4 separate regions of the Homo sapiens genome follow, and all the other regions are linked to region 2. The links are contacts of gene promoters, found by promoter capture Hi-C in blood cells and fetal thymus (Javierre and others, 2016). All regions are on one chromosome and are shown on one strand. The core of a region is centred on a gene start or on the middle of the fragment in contact, and the rest is flanking DNA. Distances in the headings are between cores, read along the strand shown. Region 1 has its middle 27 kb from the start of EEF1E1-BLOC1S5. Region 2 holds the start of TFAP2A-AS1 (TFAP2A antisense RNA 1). Region 3 has its middle 5.2 kb from the start of EEF1E1-BLOC1S5. Region 4 holds the start of BMP6 (bone morphogenetic protein 6).

Region 1 (4,016 bases), core at 468-2,967, 2.3 Mb after region 2:
GACACTCTCCATTTGCTAAACGTACAGAACAGATTCATTACCTTTGTCCCCCCGCCCCTTAACAGTATGGGTTTGATTGCCCTCTTGCCTACAGGTAATTCTCCATCAAAATTAAATCCGTCCGCTAGTTCTCAATTTTATAAACTATGCAGGCACAGGGAGAGAGGAGGTCGGGCGGAGGCTCGTGCTGGGTGGGAGGAAGGTTACCTTTCCCAGGGCCACAACGCCAATCCAAAATTCTTCTACTCCTAGAGCTCTGAAGATGCCTGTATTCACGGTCCCATAGTGACACCAGCTGGTCAGATTCCAAAAAACAGCTTAGATGGAGAGGAAATGGCTCAGCCCCCTGCACCGTGCTCAGATGATAAATATACAGCCCTGGCCTCTTGACACTCTGCCTGTTCCAGTTTAAATGACATATGCCATATAAGGCATAAATACATTTATAGAATAAATACACAATACAAAAATGTGTAGATACTTTGGCTGTTACAAGCTCCTCTTCTCTTCCCCAAAAGATCAATGACACTGTTGATGCTTAATTGTCAACCACCATTTTCCTCCCTAGCAATTACACACCCAGTCCTATGAGCTGGCGCAGACTAAATCAGGGGAGGTCCTTGCCAGTTTACCAAGGTAGGGAAGGTTCGCCATTGGGAGAGAGAATGAGGCCTGATGTTCAGTTTGTATGTGACAGATGGAGAAGACGGATTGTGAAGACCAAAAACACCTCTAGATTTGTCCATTTCAGAGCTGCTGGAGCTCCAGAGTCTCTCTCCTGTGAAGACTTCTTCCCCAAAATGCGGCCTTGGCGATGTATTCACGAAATATTCATTTTGGCTCCTGATTTTTTATTCGTCATCTTGTAGTCTTTTTCTTTTCCTTTCAGGAAAAGGCTTCTTCAAATTGTATAAGCTTCAGACTTTGAAAAGCTGGGATCCATACCTGCAATAATGTATATACTAGATGTACTGGTACAAACGTTGGATACCTACTATATCCTCAGCACTGTGCTGGGTGCCGGGACATGTGCAGGAAAGGAGCAGGAAGCTTCCTACTCGATCAGTTAACCACACCAGCACATAAAATAACTAGCCAGCGTTGCAATGCAATATGTAATCAAAGACTAAATTGTGTAATCCAAATTATGTGCACAGTAGCCTGGAAATTCACAGGGGGAAATAGAGGTTATTAAAGGATGTGAAGCAATTCTGGAATGCTTCACTGAAGAAGTTTTAAGTGGAGCCAGAAAAGTATGGGAGAAAGGAAAAAGAAGTAACTAATCAAGGGGGAGAAGGGGGAGTGAAAGCCTCGAGGTGGAAATGAGGTTGTTTTGTTTTGTTTTGTTTTGTTTTTTTGAGACAGAGTCTCACTCTGTTGCCCAAACTGGAGTGCAGTGGCATGATCTTGGCTCACCTCCACCTCCTGGGTTCAAGCAATTCTCCTGCCTCAGCCTCCTGAGTAGCTGGGATTGCAGGCTAATTTTTGTATTTTTAGTAGAGGCAGGGTTTCATCATGTTGGTCAGGCTGGTCGCCAACTCCTGATCTCATGATCTCATGATCCACCCGCCTCGGCCTCCCAAAGTGCTGGGATTACAGGTGTGAGCTACCACACCTGGCCAAGGGAATTCGGTCATTTTTAGTGAGGAAGAATGAGAGCAGCTTGACAGAACCAAGCTGCACATTGGAAAGTAGTGGGAGACATTGGACTGAATGAGATGGGAATCCAGCTACCAAGGACAAGGACAGCCCCTCAAGAATTTTGACTTGACTTTGAGATCTCAAGTGAGAAAAACCACACAAAGGTAACTCTGCTGGCATTTTACACAATGATTACGCACATTTTTCTAATAACTTGCTGGAAATAGAATGAGCATTGCAGCACCATCGGACAGGTGCCTTACTCATTGGAGATGTCTGGACAGTGCTGTGATCATCCTCGCCAGCTGCAGCAATAGCACCCTGGGTCCTGCAGCCAGAAAGAAGGATCTGATCATCACCTCGTCCTCATGCTGTGCTGAGGAGCCTTGGTGCACAACTATTGGCTCGTTTTGGGCAGGACAGGTAAGTCCCAGCTGCAGAGCTTATGACACACAATTTTTACCTAAACTTCTAACTTTTATCCACGATACCTACTCCCCTTTCACTGCCTTCCTAACTTCTTGGCTCTTAGAATGTCCCAGCTTCATGCTCTTTTTAAATACCTGTATAAGAAATCATGTCTTTAAATAAGTAGAGGGTGCTTTTCGTGTTACCATGTAAAGGTTTTGAAATAGCCCCTGAAAAAGACATAAATATCTCTCTTAGCAGCCTATCAAAATGCCAGACTTCTCGGCATTTCGTGTCATTTCCTGTGGATTAACCCAATATCAATGTCAAGCTTCTTGAAGACAGAAATGATGCCATTTCCTAGCATTTCCCAATGCCTCGAATTTGCCTAGCAGGTAGGAGTTGCTCCATAAATGTTTGTCGGATGGACCGATAGATGGATGGATGGGTGAGTGGGTGGGTGGGTGGATGGATGGATCTTTGGTTGGATACATTTAAAGTAAAATGAAACATCCTGGCTAACACGGTGAAACCCCATCTCTACTAAAAATACAAAAAATTAGCCGGGTGTGGTGGCACGCGCCTGTAGTCCAAGCTACTCGGGAGGCTGAGGCAAGAGAATTGCTTGAACCTGGGAGGCAGAGGTTGCAGTGAGCCAAGATTGCACCATTGCACTCCAGCCTGGGCGACACAGGAAGACTCTGCCTCAAAAAAAAAAAAAAAAAAAGTATAATGAGAAACTGGAACTATGTATGTGTTGGTTCTGATAGGCGTGGACCCATCCCATTGTCATTGTTGTCAGGATCTGGATCAGCAAGACATTGGCCAACTGGGACAAAGAGAAGAATAAGACTCAAAAACTGATGGGAAGAACCAAATACTACTGAAGACCAACTTCACTGCTCAAAGTGGCCTGGTGCCAGTCCTTTTCAGGAATTAAATGAAACTGCAGCTTCACTGAACCACCTCACAATTCCATTTGCAGACAGGAATGCCCCAGCAGATCCCAACAGGATGCTCACCCCATGGAGGGACAGAGTGGGTTGATCCAGCCCACTAATAATGCTAACATTTCTACAGCGCTTTCTTAGGTGCCAGGCTCTGTTCTAAGTGCTCTACTTACATTAACTCCTTTAGCCCTCATGACTAACTTTACAGGTGTGTAGTACTATTTTAGAAATAGTCCATTTTACAGTTGAAACGCTGGAACACAGAGATGTGAAGTAGCTTCATCCAGGCTACACTCCTAGTATGTGGTAGGGAAGGGAATGCCACAGGGAGCCTGGGCTTTGATACCAGGCTTTTCCCCATCTGCCATGCTGCTCTTGGGTCCCAGCTAAGGGTAGAACAAAGATAGAGGGCCTCGGGCCAGGCGCAGTGGCTCATGCCTATAATCCCAGCACTTTGGGAGGCTGAGGTGGGCAGACCACGAGGTCAGGAGTTCCAGACCAGCCTGGCCAATATAGTGAAACCCCGTCTCTACTAAAAATACAAAAAAATTAGCCAGGCATGGTGGCGGGCACCTGTAGTCCCAGTTACTCAGGAGGCTGAGGCAGGAGAATCGCTTGAACCCTAGAGGCGGAGGTTGCAGTGGGCCGAGATCGTGCCACTGACTCCAGCCTGGGTGACAGAGTGAGATTCCATCTCAAAAAAAAGAAAAAAAAAAAAGATAGAGGGCCTCAAGTACACAAAATCACTGCACATCCAACCACACCTGAAGCCAACTATAGCCAAGAATCACCAGGTAAATGTATTTTTCCAACACCTACACATAAGCTACATTCTCAAAGAGTATTTTATAATGATTCCTTCAAACAGGTAATATTAGTAGTTGGTAGTCAGTGCAAGTTTGGAACTAAGCTTTCAGAAATGGGAATTTTTAAACCTTCCAGAGACAACAAGTATGATCATGAGCCCAAATAAAGAGCATGACTTCCATAGTTCATGAGTAAATTTTAATTGTACAA
Region 2 (3,926 bases), core at 802-3,301:
AAGCGGGTTCAACTTAAGACCACTGATCCCAGCTGCGGGGCTCGCTCCAGATCCTCTGTGCTTCACGAAGTTCTAAGTAGCTTCTCCCTCTGAGCTACAGGATCGACGCACCCCACGGGGGTGTGTGGGGGTGGGGTGGGGAGATGTGCTGCGCCGAGCCTGCTGGCCGCTGGGTGCGGGAGCACCAGCTTCTGCACCAGCCCAGAACGACCGTGGGAATCCTTGCGCGGCTGCAGACCACCTCTGGTGCCGCAAGCCCGCTGGGCCGACAGAGCGCGCCGCTTTGGAACCCATTTTAAAACGCAGAGTCCCCTGAGCTCGCCTTCTTGAGGCAGCAAGGGAGACCCTAGCGCGACCTGTCCACCCGCAGGAGGCGCTGGGAACGGTTACAACCAACACTGTAATGAGCAATGAGTCCGAGAGAGGGGTTGGGGTGTGTAGGGCTGGAGATTACCTAAATAAATAGGTGGCAGTCCCAACTTTTGCTGTTTTTTTTTTTTTTCTTTTTTGGCATTTGCAGCTGAGAATGTTAGGCAGGAGGTGTGTGTGCAGGCGCAGGGGCGGAGATCTTGACTTCACTCGAAACCAGAAATTGGGTTTATGTGAACGATGTGTCACCCGCTCCCTCCTCCCTTTTCTTTCTGAAGATTATTTTAAATCGTTCTCCTTTCAGGCCCCCCACCCCGGTAGATGGGGACGGGGTGACATCCCACGGGTACTGGCTCTTCCCTGGGGGGGTCCTGTCGCGCTAGAGGAGGGGCGCAGGGACCCCACGTCAGACCAGTCGCTTTGTTTTCGAGGCTGGGGGCGAGCTTTGCGGGCAGGTAGGAATGAAGCCGAACCCCTCAGTCTCATAGGACAATTCATACTGTACTGGTCTGGGCTTTGGCCGGAGGCTTGGGCATTTCACTTTCGCAGAGGCCGAAACCCAGCTCCAGGTGTGGGCGCCCTCGGCGGGCGGGGTCCGAACCTCCGTGCGGCTCTAGGTGCCGACTGGATGGGGTGGGTGGCTAGGTGGGGGATGAACTTGCACCCCTAGAGGGATCCTGTGGGGGCAAGTGTGAATGCGTGTGTAAGCGAGGCAAAAAAAGATGAGAGAGAGAGGAGAATAAAGTCAAAGCTGTTTCCACAACTTTGGCCGTGGTGGGCAAGCGCCGGAGCGGGGATTTCGGGTTTCGGAGCTGGCTTGGGGCAGTCTGATTGTGCCGGGGCTCTGTAGGGACACGCAGGAGGCGAGGTGCCGCTTGTTCTGACAACCTGGCGGGTAGACTGGCAAAGGCAGCACGCCGGGAGAGCTAGTCGTGTCATCTGGGGGGGCGTCAGGCGGGAGTGGCCCAGCCAGTCGGACGGGTTTTTGCCGGGAGCCGCGAGCCGGTGCCAGCGGCGCCCGGGCTGGGCCGCCTAGCGTCTGTGCGCGCCCCGGCCCGCATCCCGGCTCCCGATCCGGAATCCCCGGCCCCAGAGAGCCGAGGGCAGAGCGACGGTGGCCGGGGAGCGCACGGTGCCCCTGTCCGAGGAAAGCTCAAGAGGAGGCCGAGGAGAGGACCAGTGCAGCGAGCGGGCCGGTCCCGGGCAGGGCGCCGGGTCATGGAGGAGCCGCGCAGCAGCGGGCAGCCGAGTCCCGAGTCCCAGACTCGGCTGCGAAGCGGCGGAGCCCGCGGCCAGACAGGGCCGGGAAGCGCCTGCCGCGCCGAGAGCCCCACGAGCGCCCGGACGCGGTCCCAAGCAGCTCCTACCCGCTACGCACGACCCCCGCTGCATCCCGAGGTCTGCCCCAGCCTTTTAGGTCTGATTGTCCTCGCTCGCTTCCTCTCCCCTTCCCCCTCCCCCGCGGCCTCCCCCTCCGTGCGCTCCGGCTGGGCCCCCTCCCCCTCCCTCCCTCCCTTCCTCCCTCCCTCTTTCCCTCCCTTCCTCCTCTCGGGCTCTCCCTCCTTCCCTCCCTCCCCTCTCCCCACCCGGGGCTCCTCTCCCTCGCCCACACTTTCTTTCTCACACACGCACGCAGACACATTCTCCCTCTCTGCGCTCTCTCCTTCGGTCTCCCTCTCTGCCTCTTTCTCTTTCACTTTTGCATGCCCTGCAACCTTTTAAAATGTTGCCCCTTCCCTGTGATTCGCCAGACGCCGCGCCGCGGCCCCCCGCGCGCTCGCCCGCTCCCTCTCTCGCTCGCTTTTTGTCTCTCGCGCTCCCTCTCCCCACTCCGATTTGCTACACTGAGACTCCCGTCAATGGACTGCATTGAGAGCCGGCTCCGGCGCGAGTTGCCTCTCCGCTTCACGCTCGATTTCCAGGCATTCTTCCCTTATTAAGTATTCGTGTAATATTAATAGTCATGAATATCTGCTATTAGGAGGCTCCAGGAACGCTGCCCAGCGCGGTTATTAGAAGCTCAAGCGAAGCCGCCGCTAAGAAAAGAGGGGGAGACACGGATTAAGGAACACGCACGCACCCACACACTCACACATACTTTTTCCTTTTTCCTTTTTTGGGGTTTTTCATTTTTAAAGAACTTTGAATCATAACCAGTCGCGGCAGGATAGAGACCGTGGGTTCGACCAGCTGAAGGCGCCGCGCGAATCGGTGGTTCAAGTTCGGATGGATCCGAGCCGGGCTCCCGCGCTCCGGGGAGCGTCGGCGCCGTGACTGGAGTCCTGGGTGGCGCGGGGCTCTCGGCGCCTTTTGTGTGGGGCGCGCTCGGGCGGCGGGGCAGCCGGGCGCTCCAGGCTTGCTTGTTTTTTTCCACCCTGACTCGTTACCCCAGACTCTTCGCAGATGTTAGTTCACAGTTTTTCAGCCATGGTGAGTCCCATCCCCACCCCCGTTGCTGTTTCTTTAGGAATTGGATTCTGGAAACCTGGTGCCGTGGAGCTGCCCGAAACCTCGGGTTTCACGCCCAGCTTTCCTTCAGGACACCCTCTCCATTTGCATCCCCCACCCCACCTTCCGCCTTTCTCTCGCTCTTTTCCATCCCTAAATCGAGTGCATTACCCCCTACCCCAGCCCCCGCTCGACCTCTCCGAGCACGCAGACCTACCTCGCCGCGGCTTCCCAAGGCGTGTTTCTCCCCACGTTCATCTTGATTTCCTTGAGTCTTCACTTGTCCCCGAGATGTTCTCAACATTTGATGCTTAAACTGTCTGCAGGAAAAGTGCAGCGCGGTGTGCCCCCTACCCTCGGGACCTGCGGCCGAACCGCCGAGGGTTCGCGGTCTCTGGAATCAACTCTCTTCGCTTGTTTTGCAAGGGAATTGCAATAGAGAAACCTAAAGTCAGGCGTTTCTTCTGCCCTTTGGGGCTGGGGTGGAAGGGGCGGGGGGGGGGGGCCACAGCCCCGGGGTGCACCTCTCTCTTTTAAACCCAATAAGGCTGAATCTTTCTATTTTAAACCTTGACTTGACGTCCCCCTTTCCCTATCCAAACCATAAATCGACTCTGTCGAGAAAAAGGCTCCTAACAGAGGAAGCGAAAAAGACAGACCCCGATCCTGCAGTTAAAACCTTCTTTAAGCTGGTAATTTAAACGTGTGTTTTTGTTACAGCCCCTCTGCGAAATATGTTTCTATTTAAGTAGTCATGAAACGGTAACAGTCTTTGAACGTTTATGATTTTTTTCTCTCCAAATAAATGGAAGAGAATAAACAATAACGCAGTGGCAGACAGGTTCAAATCGGGGGAAAAGAAAAGGCCGCTTCTGCTGTTTAGTATTTAGGAGGAATTTTAATTTTGCTTAAGAGAGATTTCACGCTGCAGTTTAATGGGCTGTGTTCCAGGAGACCCTTTTCTATCTTTTCCTCTCTTTGAAAGAAACCCCTAAATAGTCTCTTGTGCCCCCTCCATATACAGTTTCTCTGCGTTGTTCGGTCTGTTTCACTTGAGGGTATTTCCTGAAAAGAACTTAGAGCTGATTTTTTCCCGGCGGCCAGCCAAC
Region 3 (3,977 bases), core at 364-2,863, 2.3 Mb after region 2:
GTCAGTTGCATCTCAAGTGATTTAGAGTCTATTTGGAAGAGTCCAAAATGTGAATAAATAGGTGCAATGAAGTATGGCAAATTTCTTTGTAGGGAGCAAATACAGGGTTCAGCAGAACCCAAAACACAGAGTGACCAGCGCTGCCTGGGTTGGGGGTGAGGATAGGAAGGGATTAGGAAAGTCTGCAGAGAGAAGGTGACCCTGAGCAGAGTCTGAAAGGAAGTAGTTCTCGGGGCACATGTCCCTTCAATGGCCTGTGCTGCTCTTGAACAGAAAGAATTAGCCTGTCACCAGCATGCTGGCCCCAGGCTGACTCTTCACCTGAAGGGTGGCACCGAGGACATGCTCCGCCCTTGAGCCTTCCTCCAGGGAGTGTGGAGAAGACGTTCTGCTGCTAAAAATCCTGTGACTCTGCTGTCATTGTCCCCAGGGCTGTGGTTGGAGCTGTGCTGACAGCTCCTCTCTCACACCTCCTCTGCAACAATCTCAGTGACACTGTGCAGCAGGGTCCCCAGCATGGCTCTCAAGCCAAGATCCACCCAAGCCTTGATGAACTGGAGTCCCCCAAGATGAGCCTGGAGTTCTAAATTGAGTCGCCGCTGAGTCGGAGAATTAGGAGGCTATAGAGAGGATGTCGGGGCAGGACTCAAAATCTGGGGGATACTTTGTTCTTTTCTAAGGTATTTCTCTATCTGTAATGCTCTGAAGATTCATTTTCTTACACTTCTTGGAGCCTCAATTTCCTCATCTATAAAATGGGGATAACAATGGTATCTGCTTCAAAGGCTGGTGTGATAATTCATGAGTTAATACAAGAGCTTAGAACAGAGTCCAGCACAGAGCAGTGATCAGTAAGTGTTTGACAGCCGGATGCCGAGAGGGAGGAGAATGAGGACGATGGCGATGATGATGGTGATAATGTAATAAATGGCCACTTCCTGAGCCCAGAGAAGGTGGTTTGGGGGATCAATGAATGTTTGGGAGACTAGCGAAAGAAAATGATTTTTCTTTCAGTACATTGGTTGTCCATTCCTGACTTGTAGTTTTGAGTCATTTTCATTTGCACTGGTCAACCGTCAGATAAGGGATTTTTAATTTTTGGTGTTTAATGTTTGCTTAAAGATGAGACTGTGTAATATCCTCACAGTTCTCATGTTACTTGTTTTGACCCATTGACCTAGCTTTCCACATCATTCCATATGTTTGCATGATTCTTTATTCATTCGGCAAATGAATGTATCCAGTGATCACTCTGTTCCAAGGCTGGTGCCTGGTGCGATGACTCAGTAATAAACAGGATGCAGTCTGTGTGCTCAGTCAGCATGCCGGCCAGGGCAGGCAGATACCAAGAAGGTAGCCTCAGCACAGTGGGGTCTGTCTTGTGGCAGGAGCATTCCCAAGGCTGTTATGAGTGCTCAAATTCAGCCCTAAGAGAGGAAGCGGGGCATTCCTGCTGGAGTGAACCAGAGACAGAAAGGCCCAGAGGCAAGAGAATATTTTGGGCTCCCAGGAGCTGTGAGGAGATGGCCAAGGCTGGGGCAAAAAATGCCAGGCAGGAAGTGTCTAGAAGTGAGCATGAAAAAGTCAACAGAGGTCAGGTTATAAAGGACCTTAGCTCCCAGATAAAGGAGGCTGGACTAAATTCTAAGTGCCATGAAGAGCCACAGGCATGTTTTCTGGAAGGAGTGACCAAATAGATTGGCAGCTAAGAAAGATCACCTGAGGCCAGGCATGGTGGCTCACACCTGTAATCCCAGCACTTTGGAAGGCCAAGGTGGGTGGATCACGAGGTCAGGAGTTCAAGACCAGCCTGGCCAACATGGTGAAACCCTGTCTCTACTAAAAAATACAAAAAATTAGCTGGGCGTGGTGGTGCGTGCCTATAATCCCAGCTACTCAGGAGTCTGAGGTAGGAGAATCGCTTGAACCTGGGAGGCAGAGTTTGCAGTGAGATGAGATCACACCATTGCACTCCAGCCTGGGTGACATAGCAAGACTCTGTCCTCCGCATAGAGATAGGTGTATATAAATGATTGTAGATAAGAATTGGCTCACACAATTATGGAGGCTGAGAAGTCCAGTGATCTGCTGTCTGGAAGTTAGAGACCCAGGAAAGATGCTGTGATATGGTTTGGCTGTGTCCCCACCCAAATCTCATCTTGAATTGTAACTCTCACAATTCCCACGTGTTGTGGGAGGAACCTGGTTGGAGGTTATTGAATCATAGGGGTGTGTCTTTCCCATGCTGGTCTCATGACAGTGAATAAGTCTCATGAGATGTGATGGTTTTAAAAATGGGAGCTTCCCTGCACAAGTTCTCTTCTCTTGTCTGCCGCCACATGAGATGTGCCTTACACCTTCCACCATGATTGTGAAGGCTCTCCAGCCACGCAGAATCGTAAGTCCCATAAACCTCTTCCTCTTGTAAATTGCCCAGTCTCAGGTATGTCTTTATCAGCAGCGTGAAAATGGACTAATACATGGTGGTACCATTCAAAAGCCTGGGAGCTGGACAGCAATGGTAAAGATTCCCATCTGAGTTTGAAGACTTGAGAACCAGGAGCACCATGGGCAAGAGAAGATCAGTGTTCCAGCTCAGCAGTCAGGTCAGGAGTAAATATCACCTTCCCTCATACTTTTGTTTTATCCAGGTCCTCACAGACGGGATGATGCCCACCCACGCTGGTGAGGGTGATCATCTTCATTCAGTCCACCAACTTAAATGCTCATCATTTCTGGAAACACCCTGACAGACACACCCAGAAATGATGTATTACCAGATATCCAGGCATCCTGAAGCCCAGTCAAGGTGACACATAAAATTAACCATCAAAAATAAAGGATGCCCAGAGGCCTCTAAAAATTTTTAGAGGCATCGTTCAAGGACCCTTCCAATCCAGCATCTGCTTACCGGTCTAGCCTGAACAGTTACTCCAAAGAATCATGCTCTCTTCCACTTTGCAGCCTTTGCATATGCAATTCCCATTGCTCAGAACTCTCCCTCAGTTTTCCACCCCACCACTCACCTGACCAACTCTTGTTCATCCTTCAAGTCTCAACTTGAACACCATGACCTCTTGGAAGCAATCTTTTTTTTTGAGATGGAGTCTCACTCTGTTGCTCGGGCTGGAGTACAGTGGCACAATCTTGGCTCACTGCAACCTCCACCTCCCAGGTTCAAGCAATTCTCTGCCTCACCCTCCTGAGGAGCTGGGATTACAGGTGCCCACCACCACCACAGCTGGCTAATTTTTGTATTTTTAGTAGAGATGGGGTTTCACCATCTTGACCAGGCTGGTCTTGAACTCCTGACCTCGTGATCTACCCAACTCAGCCTCCCAAAGTGCTGGGATTACAGGTGTGAGCCACCGCGCCTGGCCAGGTGCCTTCTCTGCATTCTTATCATGCCTTCCACTTCCTGATCTTTGCCTTATCGCAAAATTGTTCTAGTGTCTTTCCTCTCAAGATACTCTAAGTTTGATGGGAGTTGTTCATCAATGTGTCCCCAGTGCATTGTACAGTGCCTGGTGCATAGTAATGGCTCAATAAACAAGCGTGGTAAGTGCAAGACATACATAGATATGAGAGGTATCTATAGAGAGAACAAAATGCATGCATAGCACCTGCATCACTTCATTTACCACATATTTAATATCATTCACACCTAAGTTTAAAACCCTATCATATTCTGAAATAGAAAGTTAAACTCTTCTAAAACTGAAAATTTGCAGATGATGGCACTGCTAAGAGCAATCTGATACAGTAACAGTTTCTGGCATATGCAGCTCATTTTAACAGATGCCCATATGACATACAGAAAGCTGTCAGGCATGCTCCAAAAAGAAAAGCCATCCAGTTTATGTTCCACTTGCCAAATTAATTTCATTTGACATTTAATTTATATCCTAAGGTACTGTGGATTTAAAACTTGACTATGATAATAGCAGATTAGAGAAGTGTTCTATTTGACAAAATCA
Region 4 (3,639 bases), core at 636-3,135, 2.7 Mb after region 2:
CTCTCCTGCTGCAGTTGAGTTAACCTGGCCAGAGCTGGGCAGAAGTGAAAAAAAGCGCGGAACGTGCTCAGGGAGTCCGCAAATACACGCCCGCTGGGGACAGCGCTCCCGGAGCCCCGCGGCCCGGCCGGCCAGCCGCCTCTGGGGGCCTCGGCGCGCAGCCCTGCCCGCGGCGCGGGGGAGCGCATGTGCCGCCCACCGCCGCGCAGGTGGCGGGAGCACAGCCTGCCTGTCCCCGCGTTCTCTGGCGCACCAGGCGGGACCCGCGCGCCGGGAGCTCCTCCACCCCCTCACTCCATCCCCTGGGCCCGGGACACTGAAAAGGGGGAAATGTTCTCGTCATTACGTTACCCCAAATCCTTACCCAGGTTCACAAAGCTCATGACCATGTCCGCGTCGTTGAGGAAGGCGCTGTCCTGCGCGCTGGTCAGTGGGGACGCGCCGCCGCTGCCAGATCCGGGGGCCAGAAGGCTCTTGCGGTTGAGCGGGTGCGCGGCGCCCGGGGGCGGCTGCCGACGCTGGGACGAGCTGGCTGCTTCGTGGGGCCAGGACTGCTGCCTCTCCCCCTCCGACGCCCCGTCCTCGTCGTTGTCGGCGGACAGGGCGTTGTACAGATCCAGCATGAAGAGGGGCGCGGACTTCAGTCGCCCGGGAGGGGGCTCTCCGCGAGGCAGCTGCTGCTGCTGCTGCTGCTCCTCCTGCTGCCGGAGCGCCGGGGGCTGCGGCTGTTGGAGGCCGTGCAGGGGCCGGGGCCGGTGCGGGAGCCCCAGCACCGACAAGATCTCCTTCTGCATCTCCCGCTTCTCCTGCGTCTTGAGCCGCCGGTACAGGAAGCCCGAGGAGGACTGCGGCGACGGCGGCGGCTGCTCCGTGCGGCCGGGGCTCCCGCCGTCCCCCAGCAGCTGCCCCCCGGCGGCGGCGGCCGCGGCAGCGGGCAAGGGCGGCCGCAGCGGCGGGGGCCCGCAGCAGCTGCACAGCAGCCCCCACCACCAGCACAGCCACTGCGCCCTCCGCCCCAGCCCCGGCATCCCCGCCCGGCCGGGCTGCCCCCGCGGATCCCGCGAGGCGTGGAGCGGCGGAGCGAGGCCGGAGCGCGGCCGCTGTGGCCCTTGGCGTGAGCAGTCCCCGCCACCTCTCGGCGGGCTCGCTTCCCCTTCCTGGCCCTCAGTCCTTATCTCTCATGGTCGTCCGGGGCGCCCCCAGTTGCCCAGGCTAGAGAGGTGGCGAAGGGGCGATCACCAGGAGAACCGCTTGGAGGGGAGGAAGGGGAGCCTCACAGCCTCGCGCAGGTCTCTAGAGGCGCGCGGTCCAGGCCAGGTGCGTCTGAGTCCGGGCTGCACTGCAGCCTGCGCCCTGGCTCCTGCGAGTCGCGGCGCGGTCACTCTGGGCCTCGCTGGCCGCACACGTGCGCTGCCCCGCGCTCTCCCTGGCGACTGAGTGGGACCCGGGGCAGCGGGGAGCGGGGCCGCTCACGAGCTGCGGGAGATGCCCGGCATCACCGTGGCGCACGCCCCTCCCCAGATCGCAGGGCCACCATGAAGTTTACCCCGTTGCAGGGCCCAGGCTGCGGCGACAAGGCGTCCCGAAATGCCAGTCTATTCCGCGAGGTTTAACTTCCTTCTCGCTCACGAACTCCGCGCCCCTGAGCTCTCGGGCACCGTCGCTCCCACTCAAAATCTCCGCGCGCCGCACGCCTCCTCAAGCGGAGGCGGCGAGGATCTTGCTTTCCGTTCGGCGGTCGCCCGGCTGCCCAGCAAACCCGCTCGCAGAAAGGATGGGAAGGAAGGGGGCTAGTGCACCGAGCAGCGGCCGCGGCGGCGGCGCCGGAATTCGGTCTCCCGCCTCTCCACGCCGCGCTCCCCGCAGCGGCCAACGTGGGCTTTCTGCTGCGCGCCCGGCTCAGGTACCTCACTCCAGCCCCGGGACTCCCCGCCCCGCGGTAACCGACAGGCTGGCAGCCAATGGGGACGCGAAGCTCGCGGGCTATTTAAATAGCCCCGCCCCTTCTTTCACCCTCCCTCTCCCGAGAGGCGTCGCCTCCGCCGCGCGTAGGTTTCAAGACCCGGGAATTCTTGGAGGCATGCGAAGAGCCGCGAGGTGCCAAAGGCGAAGAGGTCATCGCTAGTAAGAATGATCTGACCAATACCCCGATCTGAAGCTTTCTCTTTTACCATCATTTAAAAGGCCTAAGTTGATGCTTTAACTAAATAAAAATAATAACAGCGATTAAATCACTATACTGCCAGAACTGAGGAAGAAAAGAAAAATGATAGCTTTTCCATCCCTTCCTTAGTTTCTCTTATTGATGTAATGTAGGCGTTTAGCGGACACGTGGCTTTCCACGGCAGCTGCTGGAAGTTGGGACACACCCTCCGGGGAGGCTACTCACAAACTGACCACAGAGAGGGCCACATGTAACCCAAGCCAGCGTCCTGAGGGTTTGGGGTCGGATGTGTTGACTTCTCTGTTCATTTGTGCTTTGGTTTGGCTTCTTAAGCTAGCACCCAAAAGAAAGAGGGTGTAATCAGACGATATATTAGAAAAGGCGTCCCCTGTCTTCTTGGAAATGTCTTGATTCTCCAGCTTATCTATTAATGTTGCATTTTAATATTGAAATACAATGTGACTTATATGGTGCAAGATAAAACTTGAGGAGAGGTGATAAAGATAACTCCAGGAAGAGCAGGGGCTTGGCATGCATTCTGAATGGTCAGGACAATAGACAGGGTCCTGAAACACAGGTTCCTGTGGATTTTAGACAAGATAACACCACCACCAACACCATTTGCCAATGAGGACACAAATTCATTTGCCTTTACCCCGCCCGAGAACATCCAGTCATCTATGGATCGTAGAAGCAAATTCACGTAAAACATGAAGGTTTTTTACTTGGTGAAAATTGTGTGGAGTTGAAAATAAAAACTGCAATTTTCTGACTTGCCAGCCTTAGTCCAAATGGTCCTAGGCATTTGAGAGTGAAGTCAAATAGATTATAGACTGTGGGATTCATGAATTTATGAGATCATAGGCTTTCTGTTGGTCCAAATCTTATAAGCATTCCTATCCTATTTCCAAGAATCTATTTCTCATGGGTAAATAGAGACCACCACTGACTCCAACTACCCACTGAGTCCTTCTTTCTAGTTCTGCCTTGGCCCAGACACAAGTGGTCATTTAGAAGAGTCTTTATTTCTACAAATATCTGATAGCTATGAATTTCAGGGCACAAAACTTATGTGAATGCCAGTCTTTAACCATCTCTACAGGGATTTCTTCCATCCGAAAAGATAATACGATACTTTGTCTGGGATGCCCGGACCCTCAGAATTCAAGAGCCCTGTCACTTCTTTTTTCTGTAGGGAACATGTTAGGGACATAAATTCACTGCAGTGCCCCACAGCAGCCAAGAGCTCTGCTCAGAAGATCTGAAATTCCAGCAAATACACCTAGGCTTCCTGCCAAGAGCCTCCTTTTTTAAACCTAGTTGCACCTTCCTCATAAGACTTCTGGTGAGATGCAGGCAGAGTAAAAGACTTTCTACCTACGAGGGCAGTGGGGAAGACACAGGAAACTCAACATTTCAAGCATGGATGAGGGCACCTTGGTGGGGCTATGTCATTTAAAACACAAAATCGAGGG

Evidence for each region. The method cuts DNA at HindIII sites, captures the fragments that hold promoters and counts their contacts. A CHiCAGO score of 5 or more calls a contact.
Region 1: a fragment that was not itself captured here is called in contact with the fragment with the promoter of TFAP2A-AS1 in region 2 in 1 of 17 cell types (M0 macrophages); the score reaches 5.1 in M0 macrophages.
Region 3: a contact is called between a fragment that was not itself captured here and the fragment with the promoter of TFAP2A-AS1 in region 2, in 1 of 17 cell types (naive CD4 T cells). The highest score is 8.0, in naive CD4 T cells.
Region 4: the fragment with the promoter of BMP6 here is called in contact with the fragment with the promoter of TFAP2A-AS1 in region 2 in 1 of 17 cell types (total CD4 T cells); the score reaches 6.6 in total CD4 T cells.

What each region holds. Positions count from the first base shown.
Region 1 is chr6:8,127,728-8,131,743 of GRCh38, reverse strand. No RefSeq gene overlaps it. Among named protein-coding and RNA genes, the nearest start is that of EEF1E1-BLOC1S5, 27 kb to the right of the region's middle. RefSeq lists an enhancer at 353-402. The HindIII fragment of the contact is 1,330 bases long and covers 1,053-2,382 here.
Region 2 is chr6:10,410,443-10,414,368 of GRCh38, reverse strand. It overlaps TFAP2A-AS1 (TFAP2A antisense RNA 1), which reads right to left and starts at 2,051. Exons shown (of 3, transcript NR_033910.1): 1 at 2,002-2,051. All of the region lies in intron 1 of TFAP2A (transcription factor AP-2 alpha), which reads left to right. RefSeq lists an enhancer at 1-71 and a silencer at 1,452-1,811. The HindIII fragment of the contact is 20,769 bases long and covers 1-3,926 here.
Region 3 is chr6:8,105,787-8,109,763 of GRCh38, reverse strand. No RefSeq gene overlaps it. Among named protein-coding and RNA genes, the nearest start is that of EEF1E1-BLOC1S5, 5.2 kb to the right of the region's middle. RefSeq lists a silencer at 439-631. The HindIII fragment of the contact is 4,957 bases long and covers 1-3,977 here.
Region 4 is chr6:7,724,345-7,727,983 of GRCh38, reverse strand. BMP6 (bone morphogenetic protein 6) reads right to left here and starts at 1,885. Exons shown (of 7, transcript NM_001718.6): 1 at 365-1,885. The coding sequence starts at 1,028. The HindIII fragment of the contact is 3,909 bases long and covers 1-2,160 here.